Linked DNA regions of Homo sapiens: region 1 is linked to region 2. The links are contacts of gene promoters, found by promoter capture Hi-C in human tissues and cell types (Jung and others, 2019). All regions are on one chromosome and are shown on one strand. The core of a region is centred on a gene start or on the middle of the fragment in contact, and the rest is flanking DNA. Distances in the headings are between cores, read along the strand shown.

Evidence for each region. The method cuts DNA at HindIII sites, captures the fragments that hold promoters and counts their contacts. A contact is called where the count stands out against the background at its distance.
Region 1: a contact is called between a fragment that was not itself captured here and the fragment with the promoter of SLCO1B3 in region 2, in 1 of the 25 tissues and cell types used here (hippocampus).

Annotation. Positions count from the first base shown.
Region 1 is chr12:20,642,009-20,644,708 of GRCh38, forward strand. All of the region lies in intron 10 of PDE3A (phosphodiesterase 3A), which reads left to right. Among named protein-coding and RNA genes, the nearest start is that of SLCO1C1, 52 kb to the right of the region's middle. The HindIII fragment of the contact is 6,217 bases long and covers 1-2,700 here.
Region 2 is chr12:20,809,430-20,812,139 of GRCh38, forward strand. SLCO1B3 (solute carrier organic anion transporter family member 1B3) reads left to right here and starts at 1,276. Exons shown (of 16, transcript NM_019844.4): 1 at 1,276-1,335. The HindIII fragment of the contact is 19,974 bases long and covers 1-2,710 here.

The DNA of each region.
Region 1 (2,700 bases), core at 95-2,594, 170 kb before region 2:
TTAGTTATAATCAGCACATACAAAAATTTGCTGTATACCTACTTGTTTTAATATTTATTTTGGACTATATTTCTAATGGTCCTATCTAAATAAATCCTTAGTTGAAAAGAAGCATAAGAGGAACCAAAGTTAAAATGGGGTTGGTTTAACTTTAATATGATAATGTGTGCAAATATTAGAAACTAAATTTCTTATTATAGTTCTAAGTGTACCTTTAACGGTTTTCAAGAAAAGAGGGTAAGTAGGAAAGCTTTTAAATTTGTAATTAGAATCCTTACAAAAATTGAAGAATCTAGATTTAAACAGAGAATTAAAGTAATTTCATGGTAGTAGCAATAGAAAGACAAGAAATATGGTCAACTCAATAATATAAATGTGATAAAAATGTATTTGTTCAATCAAACTTAGGATAAATTAATGTATGGTGAATACCCAATTGCATAAGGAGATAAATAATGTTTGGTGTCATTCATAGTCCCTTTCAGTTGGGCATTTTACTTAATAAAAAATCCATTCATATTCATTCATCGATCCAGTTATTTTTGAAGGTAGTTTTTATTTTCAAAGAGTTTCCTCTCTAAAGCATATTCTCCCTAACACCTCTCATTCTGATTTAAGTTTGAGAAGTGGGGAGAATGCCTCAGAAGTACCTGTGATCATGTAGCTATTTCATGGCAGCAATGAGAATAGTCCTGCTCAACCTATATTTAGTTCAGTTCAATTCAGCTGTACATGATGTGCCCACTGATTTTAAAGCTAGATATTGAAGTGACATGGTACATGCTAGAGGGGCAGAACTACCAGAGTATTAACTATATTCCAAAAGAAAAAAAAATATTTAAAGTGTTACCTCTATTCTTTATTACTTCTTCTTACCCTATGGTGCATAGGAGCATAGACAAAATTTTAAATACAAAATATATAAATTTGGATCTTAAAATCTGTGAATTTACATACAACTCCAACCCTCCATACCAGCTCACTTCAACTCTGTGCTTGAGGGAAAAGGAGAAAGTTGAGAAAACAAGTGTATCAAGACGGAAGAGGGAGATGGGCGGACTCTGGGAAAGAGGTAGGGTGTACCATGTGCTAGTGTATGCATGTGCGTCTATATGTTATTAAAGAGGGCGAGGGGGTTGCCACATGAGTGAAGGTGTCATCGAGAAGGCTAGGGGTTTGTCCAAAATGCAGAGATGAAGGAAGAAGTATGATGAGAATAAGGATAAAATAAGGATAGCTCTGATAGCATTTCTTATCCTTCTCAGTTGCCTACCCTGGCCAGAAGAAGAAGAGGAATCTTTGAGCATTTTTATGTATTACATAGAAACCTGTCAGTAACTTACATTGACCTTGCTAGCTTCTTTCCTGGGTGTCTTTGCTCCTGGGTTGGGTTACCAGAGAATTAATGACAAGAACAATGGAGATGCCAGCACTTGGCATAATACTGAGTACATGCTAAGTGAATATTTGATTAATAAACATGTCACTGACTGCTAACAGGACAGATGGTTTTCTATTCTTCAATCTAAGTGATTGATGACAGTATTATTCTCCTACACATACACACATATAACTAGATGTATATGTTTAGATAAGCAGCTGGATTTGGTTAGTGATTTTTTTTTTATTTAGTACTTTTAAACCTGTACTCGAAAGCAAAAGGAACATGTTTAAATATACATACTGTCTTTACCTCGTTTTTAAATCAAGATTGTACCAGCCTCATAAAATGAGTTTGGCAGCTTTTCTTCTTGTATTTTCGGCACTAGATTATTTACTTAGGATTAATTGCTTGTTGAAAGTTTGTTTTTTGTTTTTTTGTTTTTTTAAAATAAAACATTACCTATAAAGTTTTCTGGGCCTGGGCCTTGGGGTGGGGGACAGGGTGGATTAGAGCTCAAAAGGATTAGAGCTCAAAAGCTGCAAGTTCACCTGGAATAGATGTTATCAATTCCTTACCCCAAACAGGCTCTGCCAACACTGTGATACTGCCCCCCATCCACCTCCGTACTGCTATGCTCATGCACAGGTTTCTCTGACTTGCAACAATAATAGTAACTACTGGCATATAGTAATCTTCCCAGCTTGCAACAGGAGAAGATAATTTAAGAAGCTGGCTTCCAACATATCTCCCAAAAGTGGAACCCTACTCCCAGACTGCCATTTTCCTACCATAACAGGTCATTACTATCTTCTACCGATGGAGGCAGAAGATATTTTATTTTATTCTTACAAATCCAGCATTGATTCTGGGAGAAAGCTGGTGATCTATACTAGTTCTGTCTTGTTCTACAGCAGCAATTTATTTTACATGAATAATGTTTACACAAATTACAAATTCACCGTGTATCTGGCCCTTTAAAATATATTTCCTAATGTAATTGTCACAATTGTACCATGAATTTGGCAATATTATTCCCGTATTTTTAAGATAAATAAGACTTTTTACTCTGTCTTATTTTTAAGATAAGGAAGTGGATTTTAAGTAACTCACCCAAGTTAGCATGGATAATATTATAGCAGAGGTAAAAGCACACCTGTCCCAAATCCAGAAAATTCTAGTATGATCAATTTCATAAATAGCCCAAGTACAGACATAAAATATGATCGTAATTCTCTTGCCTGTGAATTATTTGTAAATGTAATGGGCTCATATCACTGGAGATGGGCTATACTCAGGGATATAGATGTCAATCTTAA
Region 2 (2,710 bases), core at 26-2,525:
CTAATACTTCCATGAATTAACCAGGTATAGAACTAATCTAGGCTGGGCGCAGTGGCTCACGCCTGTAATCCTAGCACTTTGGGAGGCCGAGGTGGGCAGATCACGAGGTCAGGAGATCGAGACCATCCTGGCTAACATGGTGAAACCCCGTCTCTACTAAAAATACGAAAAAATTAGCCGGGCGTGGTGGCGGGCGCTTGTAGTGCCAGCTACTCGGGAGACTGAGGCAGGAGAATGGCGTGAACCCGGGAGGCGGAGCTTGCAGTGAGCCGAGATCGTGCCGCTGCACTCCAGCCTGGGTGACAGAGCAAGACTCCGTCTCAAAAAAAAAAAAAAAAACTAGTTTATCAAATAACTGTGATATAGAAATTAAATACATATTGCTGCAACTGTATCAACAACTGTCCTGTCAGTGATAAGGGGTAACAATGTTTTCATACATGCATTCTCTCTTTGCTATATACATACACACATACACATAAATACATATATACATACACTCATGCATGTGTGTGTATATATACATGTGAGAGAAGACTCCGTTTATTATTTATATTTTTATAGTACACTTCTAAAACACAGCCATGTGCCTGAGATATAGTAGGGAGTCAAATATGTTTGAGTTACTGAATTAATTAATTTGACTTCATCCTTACTCAAGAAAAGTTTCAACTGAGTGAAGGTCTTCCATTCTCTAAAGAGCAAGTCAATAGAAGGAGATCATTCTTCCTTTACACATTGATGTAAGGAATATATCATACAAACTAGTCTTGATTTTTGTCATTTAGAAGACTAGTCTTGTAATTAATTGGCAATTTAGTATTCCATGTGAGATATCCAGTGTCCATGTACGTCATATTAGATCCATACACATGTAACAAGCAAAGAGGGTATGTTTTATTTTTTGAATGCTAATGTAACATGTAGGGACATTTTAAAAAATCGCCTTGACATATTTTCTATTTGGAATAGTTTTAAATACTTTGGATAATGTGTTGTATTTGTATTTCTAAAGAAGAAAATCTTATGCAACCAACTTAATTGAATAAGAAATAAATCATTCCCAGAAATAATTTATTTTCTAATGTTAACATAATGTGTACATTCTGAGAAATTATTAATAAAATGTTTAAAAGATAGGCTTCTGGGGTGAACTCCTAGAATTAGCTAGGTATGTTTTTTCTGTTTGCCTAGGACAATGACCTAATAAGATGGTTAATCATCATTGGACTCATAAAAACAAACAAATAAAAAGCCAACTAACCATTTAAAGTGAGACTTTAACATCAGAAAAAGGATGGACTTGTTGCAGTTGCTGTAGCATTCAAAGTCAAGGTAAGAACCGTCGAGGTTGTCTAATTAAAACATTTCTTTTATGTAAGAAATTTTAACAAATTTCAGTGAAAATGTTTTTGGTAGTTATGATAAATATTACAGATTTTATGCTCTGTGTCTTCTCCACACTTTTGTTCTGAGCCCTTAAAGCCTTGTAAATATCCCTTCTAGAAATAGAAGAGCCTCAGATTTATATACTCAAAAATAAGAGTAAATCATACCTTTATAAAGTGAAAAATAAAGTTTGGAGTCCTATTTCTATTGCTTTCTAAACAAATGAAACATGAAGTCTGAAAGGATGGACTTCTAGTTACTCTCTTAAAATATACTATAAGATAATTATTTGTATAAACTGTATTGAATTACTATACCAGGCTCCCTATTTCTTTGATTTCACTTTAACTGGATAAGTAGGAGTGGGCGGGTGGAGGGGTGGAAAATATGTTTCAAAGTCACTTAATCACCTCACTTTCCTCCATTCAACTCGTTTGATTTAGGGTGAGGGGAAAGAGATTTTCTAGATAACTTTTTTATCTCTGTTCAAATAAGAGAAAAAAATCTTCTGGGCACAGCTCTTGGAAAGAATTAACAGCTCAATAAATAATGGTCCCCTTCACCCATTCAGGAAGGTGGCTTCCCTGATAAGACAGTTATTTTTATTGTGAAAGTAAGGTGGGGATGCAGAAATTCTCTCCTCTGAACAATCTAAGAAGTTAGGAAATGCTGTTTTCCCTTTTATCCTCCTCAGTTCCATAGGTACATGCTAGAAACTGGGTCACTTGGCCTGCACTGGTTTTCTATAACCCCTTAAATATGAAAAGCTAAACAGAAATAAGCAGAGGCTGGTAAGATTCTGCCCTCTACTTCAGCCCAATCAAACTGTGAAGAACTGACCTGTTCTGTTCAGGGAAGAGTTGCAATGCTGCATACAAATGCCTGTGGCTCTGTCTATAAACATATTGTGTCCTCAACATTTATTTATGTCAATAATTTGGAACTCAGAAATAATATGTTCAGAGCAAAATATATTAAACGCTTCTAAATAAGGCTTAAAATGCCACAATGAAGTAAAAAGTGTGGTATTTATTCAAGGCTAAATTGATATTCAAGTTTTGTAGGTACTTTGTACTTACTTGATACATTTTTTTTTTTTTTTTTTTGAGAAGGAGTTTCGCTCTTGTTGCCCAGGCTGGAGTGCAATGGCGTGATTTCAGCTCACCACAACCTCAGCCTCCTGGGTTCAAGTGATTCTCCTGCCTGAGCTTCCAGAGTAGCTGAGATTACAGGCATGTACCACCACACCCAGCTAATTTTGTATTTTTGGCAGAAATGGGGTTTCTCTGTGTTGGTCAGGCTGGTCTCGAACTCCCAACCT